Regions from separate parts of the Homo sapiens genome. Here regions 1, 2, 4 and 5 are each linked to region 3. The links are contacts of gene promoters, found by promoter capture Hi-C in blood cells and fetal thymus (Javierre and others, 2016). All regions are on one chromosome and are shown on one strand. Each heading gives the region's core, a stretch centred on a gene start or on the middle of the fragment in contact. The rest is flanking DNA. Distances are from core to core; before and after follow the strand shown.

Evidence for each region. The method cuts DNA at HindIII sites, captures the fragments that hold promoters and counts their contacts. A CHiCAGO score of 5 or more calls a contact.
Region 1: a contact is called between a fragment that was not itself captured here and the fragment with the promoter of DUSP5 in region 3, in 1 of 17 cell types (M1 macrophages). The highest score is 5.1, in M1 macrophages.
Region 2: a fragment that was not itself captured here is called in contact with the fragment with the promoter of DUSP5 in region 3 in 1 of 17 cell types (total B cells); the score reaches 5.1 in total B cells.
Region 4: a contact is called between a fragment that was not itself captured here and the fragment with the promoter of DUSP5 in region 3, in 2 of 17 cell types (naive CD8 T cells and non-activated CD4 T cells). The highest score is 6.2, in naive CD8 T cells.
Region 5: a fragment that was not itself captured here is called in contact with the fragment with the promoter of DUSP5 in region 3 in 1 of 17 cell types (M1 macrophages); the score reaches 5.1 in M1 macrophages.

What each region holds. Positions count from the first base shown.
Region 1 is chr10:112,380,284-112,385,373 of GRCh38, forward strand. The region is part of intron 1 of ACSL5 (acyl-CoA synthetase long chain family member 5); the gene reads left to right. Among named protein-coding and RNA genes, the nearest start is that of ACSL5, 8.7 kb to the left of the region's middle. The HindIII fragment of the contact is 8,019 bases long and covers 1-5,090 here.
Region 2 is chr10:112,360,573-112,366,065 of GRCh38, forward strand. No RefSeq gene overlaps it. Among named protein-coding and RNA genes, the nearest start is that of ACSL5, 11 kb to the right of the region's middle. The HindIII fragment of the contact is 5,209 bases long and covers 1,631-5,493 here.
Region 3 is chr10:110,496,402-110,501,996 of GRCh38, forward strand. DUSP5 (dual specificity phosphatase 5) reads left to right here and starts at 1,506. Exons shown (of 4, transcript NM_004419.4): 1 at 1,506-2,099. The coding sequence starts at 1,721. It overlaps DUSP5-DT (DUSP5 divergent transcript), which reads right to left and starts at 81. Exons shown (of 2, transcript NR_187547.1): 1 at 1-81. RefSeq lists an enhancer at 28-551 and silencers at 1,033-1,562, 1,573-1,712, 1,783-1,842, 1,963-2,232. The HindIII fragment of the contact is 7,811 bases long and covers 1-5,595 here.
Region 4 is chr10:112,176,253-112,181,575 of GRCh38, forward strand. It overlaps GPAM (glycerol-3-phosphate acyltransferase, mitochondrial), which reads right to left. Exons shown (of 22, transcript NM_001244949.2): 4 at 4,221-4,343; 5 at 1,732-1,805. Among named protein-coding and RNA genes, the nearest start is that of GPAM, 4.9 kb to the right of the region's middle. The HindIII fragment of the contact is 4,349 bases long and covers 154-4,502 here.
Region 5 is chr10:112,426,600-112,431,705 of GRCh38, forward strand. It overlaps ZDHHC6 (zDHHC palmitoyltransferase 6), which reads right to left. Exons shown (of 11, transcript NM_022494.3): 11 at 3,701-4,308. The coding sequence ends at 4,205. ACSL5 (acyl-CoA synthetase long chain family member 5) reads left to right here. Exons shown (of 21, transcript NM_203379.2): 20 at 189-260; 21 at 619-1,777. The coding sequence ends at 759. Among named protein-coding and RNA genes, the nearest start is that of ZDHHC6, 18 kb to the right of the region's middle. The HindIII fragment of the contact is 1,309 bases long and covers 3,090-4,398 here.

The sequences.
Region 1 (5,090 bases), core at 2,300-4,799, 1.9 Mb after region 3:
TTTGACTTAACATGAGATCTCCTGATAAATGCTACTCAGCTCAACTGGCCAATGTCTGGCCCCACCCAGGCTCTCTGGAGTATGTGAAGGCAATGGCTCCAGAGGTGCAGTGTCTACACTGGGCCCCACACACCATCTCATTCATCCTTGGAGACTTTTTCTTCCCCCTGCCACCCCCCGCCCCCCAACCTTTTAACTAAAGATGGACCCTCCACCTCCAGCAGAAATACCTCTTCACCATTTCCCTCCCCTAAATGTCCCACTTGTCCCACTTTAGTGCCTCTAGCACATCTGGCCATTCCCCTTCTCCACTTCCATTTGGCTCCATCCAACCTAATGAGATGATTGGTCTCTCCGTGAAGAAAGTAGATAGAGAGACACAGACAACAGTTGAGAAAGATGGTTTGGTGGCAGGCCCACTGGTTGGAATCATAGTTGAGATCTTACTAGACATCAGCTTGATTGGTAGAATTGTCATCCTTTTTTGTTTTGTTTCTTAAGACAGGGTCACACTCTTGTCACTCTGCACATCCAGGCTCCCAGGCTGGAGTGCAGTGGCGGGATCATGGATCACTACAACCTCAACCTCCCAGGCTCAACAATCCTCCTACCTCATTCTCCTGAGTACCTGGGACTACAGGCATGCCCAACTAAATTTTTTATTTTTGTAAAGATGGGGTCCCACTATGTTGCTCAGGCTGGTCTCAAACTCCTGGCCTCAAACGATCCTCCAGCCTCAGCCTCCCAAAGTGCAGAGATTACAGGGATGGGCCATCATGTCTGGCCAGATCATCATCCTTGCCCCTGGAAAGAGACAATTGGCAATAAAGCCAGGGGGTCAAGGATCACACATCTTTGAGGTTCTAGTGTTCCATACAGCCGTCTTAATGTGCTCCAGTCTGCACTGACCTCTTCCTCCTTCAAAACCATGAGCTCACTGCACACACTGAAGCATTCTGTAAGAGTTTCTAGGACTAGATAGACCCATAAGTACCCAGATGGCAGGAACTATATCGGCCAAGTGTTCATCCCTCAGCACATGGCACAGTGCTGAACACACAGGTCCACAGTTTTTGTTTACTTTACTGAAAATAAACGTATAGGCTGGGTACAGTGGCTCACACTTGTAATCCCAGCACTTTGGGAGGCCAAGGCAGGTAGATCACTTGAAGTCAGAGTTCGAGACCAGCCTGGCCAACATGGTGAAACCCCCTCTACTAAAAATACAAAAATTAGCCGGATGTGATGATGCATGCTTGTTGTAATCCCAGCTACTCGGGAGGCTGAGGCAGGAGAATCGCTTGAGCCCTGGAGGCGGAGGTTGCAGTGAGCCAAGATCGTACCACTGCACTCCAGCCTGGGTGACAGAGTGAGACTGTCTCAAAAAAAAAAAAAAAAAAAGAGGCCGGGTGCGGTGGCTCACACCTGTAATCCCAGCACTTTGGGAGGTCGAGGTGGGTGGATCACGAGGTCAGGAGTTTGAGACCAGACTGGCCAATATGGTGAAACCTAGTCTCTACCAAAAATACAAAAATTAGCTGGGCGTGGTGGCACGTGCCTGTAGTCCCAGCTACTCAGGAGGCTGAGACAAAAGAATCGCTTGACTCCGTCTCAAAAAAAATAAAAAGTAAATGTGTAAATAAGTTAAAAGTGCAGAGAGTAAATGTATCCCTTGCCACACAGACACTTCTCCAGCCCACCAGGTGCTGCCAAAGCTGAGGTGCATCCCATAGAGCACTGGTCTCAAAAGCATCATGGCTGCCTGGGGAATTGGCTTTATCTTCTACTGGACCAGAAGTTCTGAGCATGCTTTCCTGTGCTAAACACACTGCCTGGCACACAGTAGGTGCTTGAATACCCAAATGGATACATTATGAGGGAACCCGCCCTCACTTAGGTCGGACTGCTTAGCGTTGCCCTTCTCATGGCATGAAGCCCCTGGCTGTGGCATTCCTGAGGAAGACTCCGCCGACCCTGTCCTGCTGTGTGCATAGAAGCATGTTCTGTTCCTTGTGGGATTGAACACTGCAAACTTTCCTTCAGCAGACTCTCCTCGCTAGTTGCCTTTCTCTCAAATTGTGCCAATGGTGAGTAAAAGGTGAAGGTGGCTTGGTAACAGCAGCTTCCCACTGTGTCTCAGGTGCCATGCTAGGTGCAGTGGAATCCACAGGTGAGGATGGTCACTATGTGCATGAGTGCTCACAGCACTGGGAGGCCTATTGACACACAGATCCATGAGTCCCAGGAAGCCTCACTGGGACCCAAACCCGAGGAAAGGGCTTATTCTGCTCCACCTCTTCTATCTCTTCTGAGCTCTGGCTCCTGTAGCTTTTCCTGTGCAATTCAGCAGCAAAGATTTTACCAGTGGAGCTGCATCGAACGCCCTAATGATTTATTTATGGTATGCTTGCCTGTGGCCCAGGACACCTGTCTGAAGCCTAGACTCTTAACCCTTTCTCTGCCAGCTGTCTTACACATTGGGACTGTTAGATGCTGTCTAGCAATTGGGCTTGGAAGAGAGATATGAGAGGTTATTATCACTTATCTTTTAAAAAATTACGTAAGCAATCGAATTGAATCTTTCCATGGTGTGGAAACTACTACTTAGCTACCACCTGGTGTTTTAACAGGGCTCCCTTTGGTAATGCTGTCTCCCTGCTCTGTCCACCACCTCTCGGCGGAGATGATAAGAAGGACCTTCCCCACTGGGTGCCATGGCTCATGCCTGTAATCCCAGAACTTTAGGAGGCTGAGGCAGGTGGATCGCTTCAGCCCAGGAGTTCAAGCCCAGGCTGGGCAACTTAGGGAGACCCCATCTCTACAAAAAACTTAAAAACAAAAAACAAAAAACAAAAGCCGAGTGTGGTTGTGCACACCTGTAGTCTCAGATACTTGTAAGGCTGAGGTGGGAGGATCACTTAAGCCTGGGAAGTTAACACTGCAGTGAGCTGAGCATGTTAGGATGGGGCTGCGATAGCGCCACTGCATTCCAGCCTGAGCAACAAAGCGAGACTCTGTCCCAAAATAAATATATAAATAAATAAAATAAGGCCCTTCCCATCTGCCTGGGGCCATGGCTATTATAAGACAATGGCTTGAGCAACTGGTGAATGGCTGGGAAGTTATCAGCAGGCTGTAGGTCAGGATCTCAGGCCATCCTTCCTTCTTAGCTACTTGGAATGAATATTGAAAGACACAGTTTCAGGGCCCCTCGGCCCTGTGACTCAGCCTTCACCTTTGCTCTGGTTTCTTATCGGTTAGAGAAATGGATGAAAAAGGTTTCCACCCACAGAGCTGCTGTCCAGCTGGATTACTCAGTGGCTGAGAAGCATTTTACACAACATGAGGGCTTGGAAGAGGCTGTGTGTCAAATGTAGTTTTGGTAGCGGGAGAGCCACACTTGTAGAAACAAAGCTGAGGTGTACACTTAGGTGCATTCACATGAAATGCCACCAACCAAGGTGGTAGAACTTTCTAAATTAGCTGCCTGTGTTGGAGGTGGGATTATATGGAGCTGTTCATTTTATTCTTTTTTTTTGTAAGTGTGCATATTTCAGATTAAACAGTACACATCAAGTGTTACCTTCCCACTGAGACTACGCTACGCCTCCCTAATTAAAACTCATCCACCAGGCGCGGTGGTTCATGCCTGTAATCCCAGCACTTTGGGAGGCTTGAGGCAGGTGGATCACTTGAGACCAGGAGCTCAAGACCAGCCTGGACAACATGGCGAAATCCTGTCTCTACTAAAAATACAAAAATTAGCCAGGCACACACCTGTAATCCCAGCTACTTGGGAGGCTGAGGCATGAGAATCGCTTGAACCCAGGAGGCAGAGGTTGCAGTGAGCCGAGATCACACCACTGCATTCCAGCCTGGGCAACAGAGCAAGACTCTGTCTCAGAAAAAAAAACAAAAAACAAAAATCTCATCCCCCTGCTGTACCCCCAGTTCTCTTTCCCTACTCTTGTTGTTTTTGTTGTTCCGTAGTCCTAAGTAACCTAGTTATTGCTCAGGCTTGTTGTCAAACTCCCCAATATAATGCAATCTCACGAGGGCAGGGTTTTCCCTGCTATATCCCCAGCACCTGGAACAATGCAACATATACAGCCAAGCCCTTCAATAGCTTTTGGCTGAATGATGGAGTAGACAAGACTTTCAAGAAATCCAGTCATGATTTCTCCTCTTCCATCTGTCTTTTTCTTGTTTTTTTGTTTTGTTTTGTTTTGTTGTTTTGTTTTTGAGACAGAGTCTTGCTCTGTTGCCCTGGCTGGAGCGCAGTAGCACAATTACAGCTCACTGCAGCCTTGACCTCCCTGGCTCAAGCGATCCTCCCACCTCAGGCTCCCAGGTAGTGGGGACTACCGGCATGCACCGCCAAGCGAGGCTAATTTTTGTATTTTTTGTAGAGACAGGTCCTCACCGTGTTCCCCAGACTCAAACTCCTGGTCTCAAACTCCTGGGCTCAAGCAATATATCCACCTCAGCCTTCCAAAGTACTGGGATTATAGGTGTGAGACACTGCACCCGACCTCCATCTCTCTTTTTCTATGAGGATTGTCTTTTCAGAAACACAAATGCGTATATAATTCATTGTAATTGAGAAGATAATGTACACACTGTCCAAATATTTTTTTCTTTCTCCCTGGCAGTACATCATGAGCTCTTTTCATATCATTACCTACAGATCGACTTTCTTTTTTAAAATACCTGCCCAGAATTCCATTGTGTGGAAGTACTGTAATTTGTTTCATTCTTCTCCTATCAAGGAAGGCTTTCCTAGGCTTTTGGATTAGAAACAATTCTACAGCTTTAAAGGTGATAAATATAATAGTTAATACATGAACCTGCGTGCCAGCCATGGTTCTAAGCACTTTATATATCCATTAACTCTTTTAATCATGGTGACAGCCTTAGAAAGGAGATGCCATTACTGCCATTTTATAGATGAGAAACCACAGAGAATTAAGTTATCTGCCCCAGGTCACAAAGAAAATGACCAAGAAGAGCTTGAGCCCAACTAGTCTGAGCCAACATTCTTAACCTGTACTTTACATGTCATTTGTGATGTAGTTTATTGATCTGATGTC
Region 2 (5,493 bases), core at 2,985-5,484, 1.9 Mb after region 3:
AGAGCTCTGACCTTACCAGCCTCCTGCCCTAAGATACTAGGCCTCTGGTGGATTCCTAACAAATGGAAGACAGTATTCCTGGGGGCCCTGCTGGGTGATGACAGCAAGGTTCTCTTCAGTTCGGGCTTACAGGTTCCTAACGGGGACATTCCTAAAGGTAGAGCACACCGCGTACTCACTATTCTAGAAATAAGAGCAAGTAAACATGGCTGTGACCTATCAGGGTGTGAACTGCAAACTTCCCCTTGTGTTCTCAGCTCTTACAAACAGCTATGGTGCCGGTTCTGAAGATGCAGCTTCTACTAAGCAAAAGTTTGAGGAGCCAGAGGAAAGCAGAGTTAAGATCAAACTGGAAGATCATGGCTCTTAGGGCTGCAACAAAACAAAATCCCCAGGATGCAAATCCTGTCAGTAATGATGCACACAGGCACCCACGACTCCTACAAAGCTGAGGATGAGGTGTGGCCTTGGCTGACTGACAAGAACGCTCTGGTCTTGTTTCTGAAAACGTTTGTGCCAAGAGAAGAAAATTCCTCCCTCCTGGAAGCCCTGCCTGTCTCCTCTGTGCTTCAGTCATCTGCTATTTATCCTGTGTGGCTGAAACAGACTTTCTCATACCTTTGTCCTAAAGGAATGAGTCTTTGACACCTGAACAAATTTGAGGCTTTAAGCAATACTTTAAACAACGAAGTGTTCTCCCAGATATCACTATAATCTCCGGGGTAGCAGGCTAGTCTGGCCTAAATGCCAGATTTCTGAATATTTATTTCACAGTCTCTGTTCCTACTATTTCGTAGTCTCTGCTCCTCCTCCTGCCCCCATTATGCCTTGGCATGAAGAGCAAAAACTTTCAGAGGTTGTGAGGAGGAGAAGCAACCACCTGCTCCAGGTACTCAGTATTCAAAGATACGGAATGACTAACAGTGATGCCATTAATTCCAAAGCCACTTTCCATAAAATTTTAGGTTTGCCAAGACACTTTTGCTGTCATAGTGTCCCAAACACTGAGCAAATAAAGAATGTGTCCTGGCCGGGAGCGGTGGCTCACGCCTGTAATCCCAGCACTTTGGGAAGCTGACGCAGGCAGATCACCTGAGGTCAGGAGTTTGAATCCAGCTTGGTCAACATGGTGAAACCACATCTCTACTAAAAACACAAAAATTAGCCAGGCATAGTGGCAGATGCCTGTAATCCCAGCTACTCAGGAGGCTGAGGCAGGAGAATCACTTGAAACCGGGAAGCAGAGGTTGCAGTGAGCAGAGATCATGCCAATGCACTCCAGCCTGGGCAACAGAGCAAGACTCCTCAAAAAAAAAAAAAAAAGAAAAAATATGTACTAATCCATCTTTCTCTGGTGATGACACACTCTTGACCCACAGAATGTTTCTCCATCTGTGTAAATTGGCGACCTTTGTGGCACTGGGCTTGGCATCTGGCAGCTTCTTTCTGGTGGATAGCCATACATCTAAAGTGAGACAGGATGTCCCTGACTCCTCCGCCCTCTCCAGTTTCTTGTCTGGAGAAACCAGGAGCCCTCCCACTTCCTGGCATTTCCTCTCTGCTCCTGGTAAAGGCTCTTGAGCCAAGCACGTGGTGTGTCTGTCCCCAGGCTGTGAGCCCAGGGAAAGAAAGCTTGCAAGGCAGAGGATAATATCCTTAAAGGCTTGAAAAGGAGGGAGGTGCTGACATCCCCCCAGAATACTGGTATTCCTATCTATGGCACAGGAACCCCGGCTTCTCCCACTACCTTCCTGTAGAAGGCAGTGTCGCAGAATGGCTGTAAGCACAGGTTTTGGAATGAGAAAAGCTGGCATGGACAAGTTATGTATTATCTGAACCCAATTTCCTCATTCGTAATTACTCTGACAACCTTTTGCAAGGATTAAATGAAGTAGTAAATGTAAAATACACAGCATAGTGCCTGGCATGTAACAATAGCCAGTAAGTGGTAGCAGTTTTATAATAAAGGTTTATTGCTCCAGGCAAAAGATCATAAAGTCTGTTGGATGGATTCTGTGTTGACCCTAAGGAACAAATTGCTGCTGCTGCAGAAACCAGAGGAACAGGTAAAAGATGTTGCTGGGACAGGTTTCTGAAGATGCCTGGATTTATAATTGCTAATATATACAGGCATATACATAGTTTTCAAGCATTACATGGGATGATGAAGCTCTGGCTGGTTTTTAGGGGGAAAAAAGTTCTCCCAGAACAATTACAACATGTTCATTGCTGCCACTGGGCAACACTACCTTTTGCTTATATTCTGTAGGCATTAAGTCAAAGGGCCTTTGGTTTCTTTGTCTTTTTTATTTTTTTTAGACTGAGTCTCACTCTGTCACCCAGGCTGGCGTGCAGTGGCGTGATCTTGGCTCACTGCAACCTCTGCCTTCCAGGTTCAAGCTATTCTCATGCCTCAGGCCAGGCTGGTCTCAAACTCCCGACCTCAAGTGACCCGCCAACCTTGGCCTCCTAAAATGCCGTGATTACTGGCGTGAGTCACCACGCCTGGCCAGGGCCTTTAGTTTCTAAATCAGCACTGTCCAAAAAAATAACACGAGTAACATATATTATTTAAAATTTTCTAGCACACACATTTAAAAAAGTAAAAATAGCAGTTAAGATTACTTATCAAGAGTATCCTAAATATTATAATTTCAACACATAATCAGTATTTTAAACATTGAGATTTTATGTTATTTTCTTTATACCACATCTGGAAAATTTGGTGTGTGTTTTATACTTAAACACCTCTCAATTTAGACTTGCCTCATTTCAACTGCTCAGTAGCCACGTGTAGTTAGTGGTTATAGTATTGAACAGTAAATTTTCACTCTGAGCCACCCTTTTAATCCCCTGGGAGATAGCGATGTTTCCTATGGGGTGTTGAAGGTTCTGGGAATTTCAACTTGACACCTCTCTCAGTGGCCTCAGTTCTGTCTATCTGATTCTTTAATGCTCTTTGGAAGCTCTTGCTGATAAAGGAACAAGCTGCCTACATCATGACACTGAGAATAATATTTATTCAGCATACTTAAAGCCTGAGATGGGGCCGGGCACGGTGTCTCACGCCCATAATCCCAGCACTTTGAGGGGCCGAGGCGGGCAGATCACCTGGTCAGGAGTTTGAGACTGGCCGGGCCAACATGGCGAAACCCCTTCCCTACTAAAAATACAAAAATTAGCCCGGTGTGGTGGCAGGTACCTGTAATCCCAGCTACTTGGGAGGCTCAGGTGGGAGAATCGCTTGGACCTGGAAGGCGGAAGTTGCGGTGAGCTGAGATCACACCACTGTACTCCTGCCTGGGCAACAGGGCGAGGCTCCACCTCAGGGGGATAAAAAAAAAAAAAAGGCTGAGATGGGGCTGTTCACGAGCACATCCCGAGGGTTGAGGGTGATCAGTGTCTACTGGCCCTTCCATGTGTCATGTGTCATGCCCCACCCATTGGAAAGCTCAAATCTAAGGCTGAAAGGCAATTTGCTTTGGGTGTGTGGTTCAAGAAAGGGGAGGGGTGCCTGGGGTTGGGGGAGCTTTTTATTGTAATCTGGGCAAACAACATTCTTGTCAGCCAAGTGCTCACACTTGGGTAACACTTTCTTCCCACGAAGAGTAAGCACGTGTTCTCAAGAGCATGCATGCCCAAGCAATTGATATCAGCAGCTACAGTTAAGAGAAAGAGTTGCTGCCATCGCTGAGCTGTGGGGTCAGCTTCTTCCTCATACCCTGTGATGTTCCCATGGTGCAGGGTTCACTACAGGGCCCAGAATGGAGCTGTGAGCCCTTGCCGCATAGCAGACGGCTAAGAAGAAAGAGCTAGGGGGTCGCACAGCTGGGACCCGTGGAGCATTGGCCCCTCCAGTGAAGTGAAGCAAGGCTCTGAGTTGGTAATGGGCTCTGCAGCAGGCAGGATGTCCAGGCTGCTAGGGACCCCTTCTCGAGGGGGCCGGACCCTTGGCATCCGGTCCACATGTCTGGTATTGGGTCTGGCTTCCTGTAGGGCAATGGGTCTTAGTTTTCTTTGAGAGACCAGTAAAAATTCTGAAAAGAAACGCATATATAAACACACCAGTTTGCTAGGGGGTCTTGGAACGGATGGTACGCAGTCACAGATATGTGCTTGGGCTCTAGACTCAAGACCACCTAAGCTCAAAATCTGACTCTGAGACTCAGCCAACTGTTAGCTGTGTACCTTGGAGGTTTAATTAGGCTACCCCCTAGCTCTTTCTTCTTAGCCGTCTGCTATGCAGCAAGGGCTCACAGCTCCATTCCGGGCCCTGTAGTGAACCCTGCACCATGGGAACTTCATGGGGCATGAGGAAGAAGCTGACCCCACAGCTCAGCGATGGCAGCAACTCTTTCTCTTAACTGTGTTACTTGGCCTCTCTTAGATTTTCCTCTCCTTCTAAATAGCAATAAAAACTTCCATAGGGCTGCTGTGTGATTAAATGCGATAGTACTTAAATGTAGTGTTGCCACCACGCGGTAGGAGCTCAGTGATGTTCGCCATCATGAAGGCCTTCAGAGAGGATCTGGCATGAAAAACTTGAATCACTGCCCTGTAAGTTGTACTTTGAGTGTCATTAGCCTTTTGAAATATCAGATAACCAGGGAAAGGGCGAACATGAATTTCTGTGGCTGATTATGACACCCTGGTTATGAGTTAAGGGACTTCGCTCCTTCCTTCTCATATCTCAGTACACAGATAAACTTCAGAGTCAACTCTGCCATGTGGGAAGCTAAAGGTCAGTGCAACACAGCTCTGTTTTTGCCCACTGCATGCCATCACAACCTCTGCCCTGCTATTCAGCTAACTCCAGGAAGGGACATCTCCCCTCTTTCTTTGTGATCCATCATTGTGAAGTTAACAAGAATAGATCCAGCCCATAGCTCTAGGTCTTTGCTTCTCTTGCCTGTTGAGTCATGTTGTTTGACTTGAAAAGGCTTGACGTAGAGGTCAAAACAGCCTAAGATCCTTCCTAAATAAGTGTTTCGCGTGCTTCACATGTCCCAGCTACTGCAGACATCATGAGCTTTCCCTTTTCTCTCTGGTCCTCACATTTCTTCTTTGCCCTCACCAAAAATGCTTATGGTAAGCATTATTTTGTGACTGTTCCATCATCTTAATCCAGTGAAATATTCTAAAACAAAAGATCTAGAGGTTTAAGATGAATCTTCTAGATTCTGAGGTCAGAGGTTATATTAAAAGGAGAAATCTGGGGCCGGGCATGGTGGCTCACATCTGTAATCCCAGCACTTTGGGAGGCCGAGGCGTGTGGATCACTTGAGGTCAGGAGTTCAAGACCAGCCTGGCCAACGTGGTGAAACCCTGTCTCTACTAAAAATACAACAACAAAACAAAATTAGCTGGGTGTGATGGCAGGTGCCTGTAATCCCAGCTACTCGAGAGGCTGAGGCAGGAGAATTGCTTGAACCCAGGAAGCAGAGGTTGCAGTGAGCCAAGATTGTGCCACTGTACGCCAGCCTGGGCAACAGA
Region 3 (5,595 bases), core at 256-2,755:
CCCCAAAACAAAGCCTGGCCCACGTGGGTGCTCCGCGTATGTGTGTGGCTCTAGGCGGAGATGCCGGGGGTGGAAAGAGCCGGTAACAGAAACAGAACGTGCTAGAGGAAGAGCAGCCTGCAGGGAAGGCTGGCACAGATAACCACAAAAAGAAAGAAGGCCCCCGCATCACGTCTTCACCAAGACCCCACTGGCAAGGCGAGGACAGCGCCTTTGGGTGGATGCATCTGTGACCCAGAGGCAATGCTGGCTGTCCTGGTGTCTGATTTGATTGCATCTGATTTCAAAATTTGATCTCTGCTTCCTTCTGAAAACCTCATTCCCTTATGTCAGTTGTCAACAAGCCCTTGTCTAGTGCGGGCAGACTGTTTTCCATCAAGCAGTCCCAGCCAGGCTAACAATAAAATGGTTGGCAGTGAGCTTGGGGGCAGAAACCTGTTTCCATCCATGTGTCCCCGCAGCTAGCAAAGCCCTGGCACACGGCTGACCCTCAATAAATGCTTGCTGAATGGGTGAATTGTGTCTGCTTCCCCAGGAATAGGGGTGGGAGGCCTGAAGCCCCTGGGGACCGGTGGGGGCAGACAGCCTGAGATTAAACTTGATCCATAGATAATCCCCCAAATCCAGAAGCCACCTGGACAACAGTTGGCTGAACTGAGCTCCATCGTGGGATACATGCTGATGGTACTGCTGAGTTCACCAAGGGTCTCCCCGGGACCAGAAAACAGCTCCTCAAAATACAACTTATTATTCTAATCATTATTGGAGAGTGACAGAGAAAAGAGCGTCAATCCTTTGAGGGCAGAATCCATTTAGGAAGATTAAATGGCTATTCTCACCGCCGACCCCCAACCCCCGTTTTTACTTTTACAAACTTTATTATGAAAAATATCAAACATACAGAAAAGTGGAGAAAACAGTATAACGAATCCGGCCACCCATCACCCAGCCTCAGCGATGACCAACCCGCGCCTGACCTCTCCAGTCATCTATACCCCACCCCTCGAGGCAAATCTCCGACGTCCTCTCCTTACACGCGCAGACCTCGGTAGCGACGGGAATCCGTTCCGGACTCCTCTGGGGCCCTGGCCGGCTCCCTCGGCCCTGCTCAGCGCGGCGCGGGCGGGTTCTCAGCCCACGTCCGTGAAGCTGAAGGCCGGATCGTGCGGCGCCGCCCCGCCCCCCACGGCGCTTCCTCCTCGGTCCGCACCGCGAGGGTCACCGCGGCCCCGGAGCGCCTGGGACACTCGACCGGCAGCCGCGGGTGATGCGCGAGTGAGTCCCTCAGCGAAGCGCGGAAGAGAGAACGAAGAGGCGCCTTCCACTTCCTCTCGCTCTAACGCCGGCACCCGCCCCGCGCGTCCCTCGCCCCCGCTGCCCCGCCCCCTGCAGGGCGTGGCCACGGCCCGAGGGGCGGGGAAACACCCATATTTGGCCTTATATGGGCAGCCGCGTCACGGACGGCACTCATTCACATAAAACGCTGCGCGGCCGGCGGAATCCCCGGCTTCTAGGGCGGCGAGCGGCCGGGCTGGCTATCGAGCGAGCGGGGCGGGAACGCGGAGTTGCGCCGCCGCTCGGGCGCCGGGCTCCGTCGCGGCCGCAGCCCCGCGGGTCGCCCTCCCGTGCCTCGCCCGCGGACACCCTGGCCGTGGACACCCTGGCCGTGGGCACCCGCGGGGCGCGCGGCGCGGGGCCGCTGGCCGGCGGCGGCGGCGGCATGAAGGTCACGTCGCTCGACGGGCGCCAGCTGCGCAAGATGCTCCGCAAGGAGGCGGCGGCGCGCTGCGTGGTGCTCGACTGCCGGCCCTATCTGGCCTTCGCTGCCTCGAACGTGCGCGGCTCGCTCAACGTCAACCTCAACTCGGTGGTGCTGCGGCGGGCCCGGGGCGGCGCGGTGTCGGCGCGCTACGTGCTGCCCGACGAGGCGGCGCGCGCGCGGCTCCTGCAGGAGGGCGGCGGCGGCGTCGCGGCCGTGGTGGTGCTGGACCAGGGCAGCCGCCACTGGCAGAAGCTGCGAGAGGAGAGCGCCGCGCGTGTCGTCCTCACCTCGCTACTCGCTTGCCTACCCGCCGGCCCGCGGGTCTACTTCCTCAAAGGTGAGCGCTCGGGGTCCCTGCCACGCTCGCCCCTCCGGCGCCCCCGGGTCCCCTCCCTGCGCCGGGGCGCCCTCCTACACCCTGGGACCGGGAGAGTCACCACCTGCAGGAGTCTGCACCCTGTGGCTTGTTGTGCGCTTGGGAGGGCACTGCAAATGTCAGCACTCAGAGCTCCCCCTCTTCCCCACCCGCGTTCCTCGAAAGCGCCCGGCAGCGGGTCTGCCCGGTGGTCTGGGTGGAGTTGGTTATGCTGCGGGGGCTGCTGCTGTTTAGCAGTTTGGGGGCCGTCGGCTCGTGCCGGGCACGAGCCCCCTTTCCAGACGCGAGCTTCGCCGCTGTCGCTGGGGTCAGGGCTCGGGGCCTTCCTGATAGACTGATCTGGCGGGATCAGCAGGTCGCGATCCACTCTCCCTTGGTGTGGCGCCGTGGTGCCCCCCTTCCTCCCGCCTAGCCAGCTGTGGTCTTCACCGACCCCCTTGCCTTTTTGACCTGGCGAGTCCCTTCCCTTTCCATTTCATTTTATTGCTTTTTATTGTTTCCCTCCGGCCTCTTCTCCCCTCCTAGGTCTTTTCTCTAGCTCAGTTTGGAGCTCACATCCTTTCCACCCTTTTCACCTCCTCCTTCCTCCGCCCCAGGATTATCCCTGGGACCCATCCTGAGCTGAGCCTACAGCCAGCCAGCCACGAAATAGAGGTGCGCGGGGGCAGGGTGGTATGGAGATTCTGCGGCCTTTGATTTGACACCTCCCGGAGCTACCGCCACAGGCCTGCCCATTTCACCTGCCGGGAAGATAACTTTGGCTTCTGGTGGTGGGTGGGTGATTGACTCTCAAAATCCAAAGCATTGGTTTTTTCTGGGTTACTTCCTATGACTGCTCCTGCTTTGTGTTTGAGTCCTTTGTAACCTCAAATGACACCCGGGGAGACCTGACCCACATGTAGAGATGAGGGTTTAGCCCCAGCAGGGCCCCAAGGCCGTGCCAGCCCTGGCGCGGACACCTTGGGATGTAACAGTGTTGGGGATCAGAGCTCGGTGCAGAGAGCCGGCGCCGAGTTAGGAGCCTGTTTTAAAGCCATGCAACTTGAGTTTCACACAGTCCGGGCCAGGAAGATTCTGGAGACAGTTCCCCTCTCTGCTAGCACCTCCTGCTGACTGGTCCCCTGTTGATTTCCTGTTGGAGAGTTAACAGAGGTAGATGGTAATCGTCCTTCTTCTAACAGCCTATCCCCCAGGGGATAGAGGGTTGGCCCTCTGGCTCTGCAGAGGTTTCAGCGTGCCTCCTGATTTCTTTCTCTTCCTAATATGGTTTTTATCTCCTGTGGTTTGGAGAAGTTTCTGCCTCAGTAGTATGAAAGAGGTTCCAGGAGACCCTCCCTGGTCCCACCTCTCCTCCCCATGCTTCTCTAAGCTGGCCCTGCTGACAGTTTAGAAGTTGTCGCCACAAAGTAGGCAGCTCTATAGACTCACATCTCAGGAAAACTGGGTTAAAATGTTTTTTAAAAGAAGGTAACATATACACAGGTAAAAATTTGAACAGCATGAAGGCCCTGTGATGAGAAGCGGGTCTTCTGCATATCTTAGAACCCAGTTCCACTCCCCAGAGACAGTCGTCAACTATTTTTTGTTTACCTTTAGATAGTTTTTCATAAGTATCTTAGAAATAGATTGATTTTGTATAGTCCCTGTCCTGCCTCTTGTATCTATCTAGATCTTGGAGACTTGTCCATATCTGATCATACATGTCTGTTTCACATTGAACCGGTCTCCTGTAATGACCATTAGGTTGCGTCCCGCCTCACTGCTCCAAGCAATGCGGTAGATGTCCTTCTCCATGTGCTCTTGCGTGTGCAGTGCCTTTCAGTAAATCATGAGAATTGCCAGGTCAAGAATTACATGCATTTTAAGTTTCAGTAGAAATTGCTTCATGCCTACCCTTATAACACTACTAAACTTTAAATTGTTGCCAGAGAAAATTTTTATTTCTTTACGTAATTCATGTGCAGATAGGAGTTCAGGTTTTAATCTGGTGGCATCTCAGATCTTGGTGGGGGCAATGCCTTTTGACACTTTCCATAATCCCCTGTCTCCCAAACAACCACTAAAATGAAATGGTGATGACTGAATTGCGTGGTCAGTGCTTATTTATATATAGTATCTGTGCTCTCTCTGTTCCCTGGTGATGTGGTGGTGATTGAAAGCAGACTCACTCCAAAAGAAGTAGCTCTAAGAATTGCCATGGCTTTTGCCACTCGAGTGAGGCACCAGCGAGGAATGTTCTGTCTCTCCACACCTCTGATGGGAGTGGGTGAAAGACTGAGACCATTTAATCTGGAGGATTCCTCTGAATCCCAGCTTGAAGAGGCAGGACCCTGTTTATCTGTCCCTCAACTAAATTTTGTCAACAGCATGCAGGATCCAGCCCACACCCGAACCTCTTATCTGTCCTCCTGATAGCCAACTCTGAAGTAATATATTTAAAGCCAAAAGATGGGGTAGCCTGAAGATTCCTATTTCCCCAACCTTCGTCCTGAAGTTTGGGAGGGCCCAGGTCATTCTGAACTCCAAATTCCCATCCAAATCCTTGTTTGTCTCCTGGAACCCATAATGTCGAGGTCCAGGCACGGGAAGTGATCAGGTGGTTTACTGACTAGGGATGCCTCTTCCAAGGAAGCTGTGGGTCATTGTGAGCCTGCCTCATTCTCTCTTGACTGCTGGAAGGGAAGGGGCCCAGGGGCTATGGCAGAGCATGGGAAGCTAAGCTGCCTATAGCACCATCTTGCACCTCTGCCGTGGCCTCCCGTTGTCGTGGGGAGCATGGTCATTGAGGAGGACCAGGAGCTCATGGGCAGGCGCAATGGGCTGCTTGTGAGGTGACCACAGGGGAGATCTGGGTGTACTAAGTGGGGGCGGGGCAGTTCCAGTGAGCTGAGAGGAAGCGGTAATGGCAAGATGACTCATTCTAGGAATTGGCTGCAGCTTCTGGGAGGGAGTTGGAGACTGCCTTGTAATCCATTAACCATTTGTCTACTGCAGGGCTTTAAAAAAGCCAGCATCACAACACCCAAAGTCAGAAAAGAAAAAGGGGGTTCTTTGGAAAATTCATGGTCTCAGAATGCATGTTTAATGGATTTGACTCCAAGTGAATTCTCTGGGCCAGAAAAAGACAAGTGGGCTTTCTGGAGGCCCTAGGAAATGTCTCAGGTTGCTCTCTGGGTTACCAGCAAAGGAGTTTCCCAAGCAAGGCTGGCCTGTTGCACCTGGCAGCCCTTGGCATTCTGAGGGTTCCAAGGCCACCTTTTCATTCGGTTCTTCCCCACTGAAATGGGCCCAAGAAGGCTTACTTATATTTGCAAGTTTCCGTGACTTGCTCAGAGGGTCGTTTTTACCTTATATCCATTTGGAGAGGTGTAAATGTAATATTAAGGATTCTGAGAGTCACACATGCCGTAAGTTGACTTATTGATTGGGGGGGGGGTGCAGGAGGAGTAGGAGAGAA
Region 4 (5,323 bases), core at 1,078-3,577, 1.7 Mb after region 3:
ACTCTAGGCTAACGAAGCCAGAATTTCTCACTTTTTCCCCCTTCACATTTTAAATACACCTGAGGGATAGAACATATTCCTGTCAGTTATAAATGACTATGTGGTGTTTAGATGGGAGGATGGAGAGATGAGTTTCAGAATAAGAATGCTACAAGCTTTCATTATGTAATACTTTGAAAACATTTGTAATGATTACATGATATCACATTATTATTATCAATTCAGTAACTCTGAAAAGACCCAGAATACCCTCAATAGAGAAAAAGTAACTTGAAAGAGAACTGTTTATGAATCACCTATTTCTTCACCTCTCCTTCCTGCCATTCTCTTTTTCTTCCTCCCTTCCTTTGTCTAAATCTTCCAAAAATTTGGCCCAATATATTAAATGTTAATCCTAAACTCCTCCTTCAGTCAACATTTTCAGAAATATTATTGGTATGTACAAAGTCCAAGCTCTCTATGAAATCCCTTTGCAACTGACTGAAAGCATTGTGTGTGTGTGCGCACATGTGCATGAGTGTGACAGTGACAGAGTGTGTGACTCTATGTGAATGTGTAAAAATGTTTTAGGCTTTGCTTCATAGAATACACAGAAGAAGTAAATAGCTGAACATGCAGCTTATTTCACTGAATAGTTTCATTCTGCCTCGTCATCATAGCAAATGCGATTTTCCTTAACTGTCTCTAATTGAGGGCAAGAAACAAACCTCTTGGCTTTATATATAAAATATCTACTTACATAAGGAAGACTCTGAGATCCCTTTTCTTAGGATCTTATCATCTTATCAAAAAAAATTCAACGGACCAAAGTCTCTCCCCTCTTTTTTAAATTTAAATTTAAATGCAAATTTAAAAGAGAGAGAGAGAGAGACCAGCAGCCTGGGAATGATCTGCTCATGTACTTAGACTTAAGTTCTATTTTTAAAAGTTTACTATATATCCAAGTATTATCATTCTCATATGTGATCTCATCATCAAATTATGAGAAGTAATATCATAAGGGCTTCAAGTAGTTGATTTCTTGCACTAATTTTCATAGAATTTCAAGTATTTCTCATCTGAGCCTATCTGCCTGCCTACTCCAGGTATCTATTTTTAGAATTACAAGGACTGCTAGCATTTGGCTACTGATTCTCTTGCCTCACAGACATTCACACAACCTTTCGACCCTCCTTCCCTGTCCCCTGGCCTAGAGTCAGATAAAACAAAGACCTTTTTCTCTCACACTGGTGCTTACAAGCCTATCCCCATATGCCTAGAAATTGTAAGAACTCTAAGTAAAGTCTTGGGTAAATAGTAACTCAAACAACATTTGCTCAACAGAGAAAATGTCTTTTAACACCCTACAGATTGGGCAGATTTCAATAATTTATACTTTTTTTAAGTATTAAATAGTCATAATAAATCATAAGAGATTCAAACCTACCGGTCTTCTCAGACAAATATTTCCCACATTTTGGCATACTTCATATGCAAATCAATATAAGTCAAAGAACATTCTAAGTGACATCTACACTCCCCTGAAATTATCTGTAAGTACACAAGTGGTAACAGTAATAGTTCTCTCTGTGGCTATACTGCTTCCAATTTTCAGATAATCTCTCTTGTGTCAGAAACTCATATTCTATTCACTCTCAGTAATGCAAAGCAATTCAGCTTAAAGTGTGTTAACTGATTATTATGAAGTTTTTCTTTTGAGATGTATTAAAAACATAAGAAATTTCTTTTTACCTTGTGTGAGTTTCATTGATATAAATAACATTCCGCAAACCCAAAGACGGGATACTGGGGTTGAAAAATTTGTCCTATATAAAACAAAGTAAATGTAGACATAAATACACAACTAGATTGACGGTGAAGAGCTCTCATTATGAGTTCTTGATAACTTTAATATCAAGCATAAAAACAGATATTGCCTCAAAAATCTTAGGGAAGAAAAAAGTTTTATTGAAAAGTACTTTTTAGCCTTCAAAGAATGTCATAAACTCAAAATTCATCTTTAAAATCTTAAAACTAGCCAGGCGCAGTGGCTCACACCCGTAATCTCAGCACTTTGGGAGGCCGAAGCGGGCAGATCACCTGAGGTCATTAGTTTGAGACCAGCCTGGCCAACATGGTGAAACTCCGTCTCTACCAAAAATATAAAAATTAGCTGGGTGTGGTGGTCGGTGCCTGTAATCCCAGCTACTTGGGAGGCTGAGGCAGGAGAATTGCTTGAACCTAAGAGACGGAGGTTGCAGTGAGCCAACACGATGCCATTGTACTCCAGCCTGGGCGACAAAGCAAGACTCCATCTCAAAAAAACAAAAACAAAAACAAAAAACAAACAAACAAACAAACCACCTTAAAACCAAAGGAAACAGTACCCCTTGCTGCTTGACTCCTCATCTCCACCCTGAAAGAAGTGAAGCTACAAGAATGTCAGAGATTTCAGTTTTCCCAAAATACAAAGACCACGCTAAGTACCATGCAGTTATTGTTGCTTACTAAATCTCCCAAAATCCCTGACACAAAAGAGTTATCACCATTTTCTAGGTGAGAAACTAAGACCGGGAGAGGTTTAGGATTCAATCTTATGTCTTGATCTAAAGAGTATGGTCTTTCTATTACCCCTAAATAACTGTCCATTTAATGAGAAATCGTCTGTCTACTGGTCACCCTCTTTACATGTGATCTTGAAAGATAATCCAGAGATAGCTTTGCTGAAAAGATAGTCTATAGCTTTATCAATATGGGCAAAAAGGTAACTGTTCCACACTTAAATGCTGAAAAAGCACAATGTTCCCTCAACAAATATAAAACTACTTAAGTGGAATCTCTTTAGAGAAAAGGAAAATACGATTTCAGAGAAAAGATAGCAAATATTATACAGTTACCAATAAAAACATTTTTAAACAAATTATTTTAAATGATCATGTCATGGAAGTAATTCAAGATCAAGTTCAACTCCATCAGGTACTATAGTAGGGCAAAAATCAATTGTCTGTTGTACTATCTACCTTTACCCTTTACTCCAAACCATTACCACCACCAAATTATTTCCTATACCCTCTGACTTAAGAACACATTGTAGTTATTGTTTTAAGTATTCAAAATTAGAATTAGACTAGATGTCAGATCTAAAAAGAAAATGACATTCTGTTTAAATCTTGATTTCAAGTGACCTATTAATCTGAACTAGCTTTACTCCTAGGCTAGAAATTTCTGTGATTCTTGAATTCTACCAAATTCTTGCAACAAGGTAGTTGTGGTTTAAAAGAAGCAATATTTATAACAAGACATTCTTCAGCAGATCTGAACATTTAACATAAACTGCTTGGGTTCCACACAAATCTCTCCCATGTTAGTAAACCCCTTTATACCAGACTCAGAATTCTACTTTCTGCCAAACCAACCTTGAGTAGAAAATTCACACAGCACAATTACCTAGCCACACAAGTTACAAGCAACCTCTATAAATGGCAGGCACTTAAACGGCAGAATTTCTTCATCCTAATAACTGGATCCCAGAGAGAGCTTAACATCCAGATATGACTTTTAAAAGGCAATTCTACTGCCTTCAAACACAACTACGTGAAGTTCTTGTTCCTGTGCTAATTTGTCCTTCTCTTCAACTACCACCGAAAATATACCTCTCACCCACTTGGCTCTTCTCAAAGACTGCACTGTAATGCAAAAGATATTGCATGGCTTGTGTTTTTTCACCAAAATACAAACAACAAACCCATATACACTCTCTTAAATCTTCATTCTAACATTTTAGTGACAATCTTTCACTATCACAAAGTCAACAGACACCTTCCATTAGCAAAGGCTCAGAGCAAAGTCACAGCTTTAACTTCTTATTCTGTCCCATTATCTCTTTCTTATCTTGCTAGAATTTTAATGTTAAGTGCTAAAGTTCAACACCTAAAAGTTCATGAAGGTTCCCACTAACTCCTTTGAAGACTTAACCAAAAGTAAGATCTACTCTCCCCCTTAAAATCCTACTAAAACCTCAAAAGAACTAGAATGTTACCTAGTATCAATTATGGGACCAATATTTACTGAATAAATAAATGGAAAGAAAAAGTGTGTCAACATCTTTACTTGAAATATTTGGTTCATAAACATGGGTCTCTGTTCTGAAAGTGAATTTAGTCCAATAAGACTGCCTACTACAAAGTTGGAAATAATATTTTATGCTGAGTATTAGGGTCAATAAGCAGTAAGGTTCTTACCCAGCTCTGGGGAGTGCAGGAGTAACAACATCTTCCAACAAATGGCCTTTTCCGACTCATTAGGCTTTCTTTCCATTTTAAAGTTGCAGATCTGAAGATGGTGGGTCTAAAGCCACACTCACCCTGACAAATATTAAGAAAAAAATATAGTTTCTAAATGGCAAGAGAATACTTGTCTACTTGATCTCAAAATCTAAAGTATTTTGAACAGAAGAAAAACTTATGGCATATTCTGGGTGATTTTCATTTAAGTACTCCCTCCATGATCAACACTTGGATAAAAGCTTACCACATAAGCAAAAGCTGAGCACCCAAGGATAGTAATAGCTACACACTGAAGGCAGTATTCAAAAATTTAAAAACTAAATTGTAGAAGGTCAAACAGACTTCTGACAGCTAGATAAATCAATTCAGACTCCTGGATCTCTAGTCTAACAATTAACCTTACCCCCTTTTAAATCACACAGTCGCACTACAGAACTATAAAGGCCTTACATAGTGAGCAAGTTTTTATAATTTTACTTTAAATAAAAAACAGGTAAACTTATATAACATTCCTTTATCTTATCAAGGGAACTTAAAGACCAGAACTTAAATTATAGCTATACTATTCAATTAGGGTCAAACCTTGCTCTTCTATTCTAAAAATGCTTAACTTTGAGCTCAGTTGCTCACATCTCTGTTATACAGATATAACATTCTCAAAATTAAGCAAAAAAAAAAACCCCACCATTTTTTATATAAAGACAATTAAGATATTTAAAATACGTCATGTTATATTGAAATAGGAAAAACAATCCAAGAAAATGTACGCCTTTTGGATTGAATTCATACTATAAGTTCCTAATTTTTTAAAGTTTACTTCTATTATAAAATTCATGCTTTTCAAGTATAACTCATGGAAAGTACATACCAAGAGAAAGAAAGAAAAAAAAATTTCTTACCGACCCAAAACTACTACTAGGGTTTTTTTCCTATGCAAAATGATTATTTTGTTTTCTAACATAATCAGTGTACATAAATTTTCTAACCATTTTTTCTTCCCAATATAATGCCATAAAATTTTTTATTAGGCTTCATAAACATACCAGTTTCTGTAGCTA
Region 5 (5,106 bases), core at 2,494-4,993, 1.9 Mb after region 3:
GTTAACACTTAGATGTGCCTTTTCTTCTCAGTTTTTCTTTCAATATTGGGCATATAATGTGCTTGTGCATAGTTTTATATTCCTGCTTTCATACTGCATGGCTTTGACAGGCACTTTGAGTTGGTTCATGCTTAGCCCTTCAGGCTTTTTGAAACAGCCATGCTTTAAGTGATGTTTTGTATTCTTAGGTTGTAAGGGAAGCCATTTTAGAAGACTTGCAGAAAATTGGGAAAGAAAGTGGCCTTAAAACTTTTGAACAGGTGTGTGCTACCACTGATGTTATACTGGCCTCTTGTCAGAAAGTTTTGTTTAAAGTTTCCATCTAATGAGGTTTAAATGTATAATTTCTAAGGAATTGATTTTAGATTTTGTGCCATTAACTACAAAATGACCTTTTGTAGTTACTTGTACAGCGCCCTTTTTTTGCTGTTTATTGTCCATTCTCCCTTCTCCCTACTCATTACTTTCTTAAATTATGTTTGTGGGAATGGGCATGTGTTACTGTTACCTTTACCCTTTCACTGCATCAACCTCACTTTCTTCACAGAGCACTCAGGGGGCTCTGCAGAGAAGTCCAAATCACTAATGAGCATGGATGTGTGTGTGTTCATCTTCCAGGTCAAAGCCATTTTTCTTCATCCAGAGCCATTTTCCATTGAAAATGGGCTCTTGACACCAACATTGAAAGCAAAGCGAGGAGAGCTTTCCAAATACTTTCGGACCCAAATTGACAGCCTGTATGAGCACATCCAGGATTAGGATAAGGTACTTAAGTACCTGCCGGCCCACTGTGCACTGCTTGTGAGAAAATGGATTAAAAACTATTCTTACATTTGTTTTGCCTTTCCTCCTATTTTTTTTTAACCTGTTAAACTCTAAAGCCATAGCTTTTGTTTTATATTGAGACATATAATGTGTAAACTTAGTTCCCAAATAAATCAATCCTGTCTTTCCCATCTTCGATGTTGCTAATATTAAGGCTTCAGGGCTACTTTTATCAACATGCCTGTCTTCAAGATCCCAGTTTATGTTCTGTGTCCTTCCTCATGATTTCCAACCTTAATACTATTAGTAACCACAAGTTCAAGGGTCAAAGGGACCCTCTGTGCCTTCTTCTTTGTTTTGTGATAAACATAACTTGCCAACAGTCTCTATGCTTATTTACATCTTCTACTGTTCAAACTAAGAGATTTTTAAATTCTGAAAAACTGCTTACAATTCATGTTTTCTAGCCACTCCACAAACCACTAAAATTTTAGTTTTAGCCTATCACTCATGTCAATCATATCTATGAGACAAATGTCTCCGATGCTCTTCTGCGTAAATTAAATTGTGTACTGAAGGGAAAAGTTTGATCATACCAAACATTTCCTAAACTCTCTAGTTAGATATCTGACTTGGGAGTATTAAAAATTGGGTCTATGACATATTGTCCAAAAGGAATGCTGTTCTTAAAGCATTATTTACAGTAGGAACTGGGGAGTAAATCTGTTCCCTACAGTTTGCTGCTGAGCTGGAAGCTGTGGGGGAAGGAGTTGACAGGTGGGCCCAGTGAACTTTTCCAGTAAATGAAGCAAGCACTGAATAAAAACCTCCTGAACTGGGAACAAAGATCTACAGGCAAGCAAGATGCCCACACAACAGGCTTATTTTCTGTGAAGGAACCAACTGATCTCCCCCACCCTTGGATTAGAGTTCCTGCTCTACCTTACCCACAGATAACACATGTTGTTTCTACTTGTAAATGTAAAGTCTTTAAAATAAACTATTACAGATACTTACGTTGTGGTGTTTCTTTCCTCATGGACCATGATGAAAATCAGTCTTAAACAAGGACCCCTTAAAAATCAAGTACAGTATCTGTTCTTAAACTTGGGTACACAATAGAATTATCTAGGAAGTTTAAAAAGACACTAATGCCCAGCACTTTGGGAGGCCGAGGCGGACGGATCATGAGGTCAGGAGACCGAGAACATCCTGGCTACTATGGTGAAACCCCATCTCTACTAAAAATACAAAAAACTAGCTGGGCGTGGTGGCGGGCACCTGTAGTCCCAGCTACTCAGAAGATTGAGGCAGGAGAATGGCATGAACCCGAGAGGCGGAGCTTGCAGCGAGCCGAGATCGCACCACTGCATTCCAGCCTGGGTGAAAGTGTGAGACTCTGTCTCAAAAAAAAAAAACAAAAACAAAACAAAAAAACCACTAATGCCTGGTTGCCACTCCAGGGATTCTGGCTTAAATGGCCGGATACAGCCTGGGCACTGAGATTGTTAAGAAGACCCACAGATGATTCTAGTCTGCGAACAGGTTAGTGAAGAAAAGTAAGTTCTGAAGACCAAACCTTCTTATCCCATAGCTGTAAAGAATAAAACAAATACCAGCTGAGCCAAAACTCCAACTGAGCACAAGTCATATCCATTCTTTTACCATCTTTGTTGTACTCTAATTATAATCTTGAATATTAATAGTATTCTTTTCTGGCCTCCAACTGGAGTTAAAGAGAATGTTCTTGGATGGTCTTTCTAGATTTTGAGCCCAGAAAAGCCAAAGAAATATCTATTCTTAAGGATCTGAAACAAAAGGGTAGGCAGGAATTAACTTTTAAAGTCTAGCTCCCATTATCACTTTAACTTTCTCGCCTTCACTTCCTTTCCTATTCTCCCCTCACGCATTACAGCTGAACCTCACTAGTTACCTTCCTGTTTCTCAAACGTGTCAGACACAGGTCCAGCCTGTTTTTGTTCTTGCTGCTGTCTCTAAAATGCAAATATCCCAAAGCACATGACTTGTCCCCTCATCTGCTTCAAATGCCAACTCAAGACTGTCCTACCTTCTTGCTTCACAATAACATGACTCCATCTTACATATATTTTACCTGTCTGTTCACTGCTGAATTCCCAAGTGCTCTTCCCTTATCCTCAACTATTACAGGCCTGGCCCCCAAAGCTTCACATTCCCTGCCTTGGAAAGGTTTCTGAAGTCCAGAGAAATAGGCTTTCTCTTTCCTTCTGTGATTCCACTGTTATGTTTAGACAAGCCCAATTTAAGCATCCAAGCCCACCAGCTTGGATCCTACCACTCACACAAGCTTCAGCTTTTTACTCAAGGGTACATGAGTAGTTTGATATCACTATGTTTAAAGTCTAGAACACTACTGCCACGGGATCCTTGGGGTGTTGCTTCCCCAGCTGGAATCCTCTGTGGCTGGCAGCCCAAAGTCCAGAGGGGGCCTAGGCGGCAGGGCGCTGGTGTCAGCACCACTCAGAGCTCACGTACACCTGGCCAGGTCCTCACAGCACCCGGGCTTGGCCTCACCTTTGCTCCAGAGCGAGTGCCAGGAGCAGGAAGAGGCCAAGCAGTTGTTGGGGGGGGGGTGTGGGGGGGGTATTTCCCCTCGGCCCCCTAGAGCACAAGGATGCCCGGGTCCGCAGCCACGGCTGGACAGCTGTAGCTACGCTTGGCTCCTGCCTATCACGGCTCCCCCTCAACACCCCTCAGGCCACCACTGCCATCCGCTGCCATCACTATGACCGCAATATCCCATTAATAGGGTTAATATCTTGAAGCAAGTGTGTCATGTCTTAAGCCACGTTTTAAGATGCCAGTTGTCCACAGGGCAGCAGAGCAGTTTTTCCATAAGGAACTAAGATGAACCTTTTTAGTCAGCAAAAAGAAAAATGCTTTAAGTAAAAACTGATTATACCCAACATCCATTGATCTTTATTTGATTTGACAAAATCTGCATTTTTAAAAGACAGGTAACAAAATCTGAGGTTATACTGAATCTGACAAATTGAGTTCTATAGTATCTAGAATATCATATAAGAAATATCAACTGAGGGAAAAGAGAAGTACCACATGCAGATGCTCCTGGCAAGGGGGGAACTGTATCTGCAGGTGAGGTCCAGAGTGTGCAGTGCATAAGAAAATCCTACAGAAAATGCCGTTAACTTACTTGGATGAAATGTTTTTCCTTTGAGGGGGAGGAAGAGGTGGTAAAGAGGGGCAGGAATTCAAAGGCATATGCAGAATGGCTTCTCCATTTCAAAATGGTAATAAAAATATTTAAATCATGGCACTAGGGCACCTTTGAGGAAAAGAACATCTTAACCAGAGTAGGCTCATTGCATAATTCTTTAGTAATATGTACAATTTTCAAGTAATTAAGCAGACTTAAAGGATAATTTTGTTTTAACAGCAGCTATCTATTTTTCTTCTCCCCCTCTGGGGCTTGATCTGTTTCAGCATCACAGGGACACTTTTCCACACATTTTCTAGGGAACCAACCCCTTATTCTTGAAACACCTGAGGGAGAAAATGAAATTGAGGTGAAATAGTCTGATGGATGACAGTGACATTACTGAAAGCAGTAAGTCCTATTACTTCAAATTAATAAGCTTGTAGTTAGACTTTTATTCCCCACTTTGCTATCTATTATAAGCACAGTTTGAAGGGGAAAAAAATAAGATTTTTAAATGTTCATAACAAGCTAGGAACAGGTATTTCCCAAATTTGATGATCCCGAATAGGGACTAATGTGGTTAAAGACAGCTCCTAACTAGAGTCAGGGGGAACTCGGTATGGGTGTTTACTTATATGTGTATGATCAGGAAAGGTGTTTTTGGCACACCATCACACTGTCTTTTCCAGGGAACTATCTTCTTGTAGTCTTTGTAAATTTCCTTTTTAGACTTTTTCTAACATATATATTTCTTTCTTTTTTTTTTTTGAGATGGAGTCTTGCTCTGTCACCTAGGCTGTAGTGCAGTGGCACGATCTCAGATTACTGCAACCTCTGCCTCCCGGGTTCAAGCAATTCTCCTGCCTCAGCCTCTGGAGCAGCTGGGATTACAGGCACACACCACCATGCCCGGCTAATTTTTGTATTTTTAGTAGAGATAGGGTTTCACCATGTTGGCCAGGCTGATCTTGAACTCCTGACCTCAGGTGATCCATCTGCCTTGGTCTCCCAAAGTCCTGGGATTACAGGCATGAGTCACCACACCTGGCCTAACATATACATTTCTATATCACGGCCGTCATAAGAGGTTAATTTATGATTAACCCCAACTATTTTTTAAAGAACATCCCGAGCTAATCTTT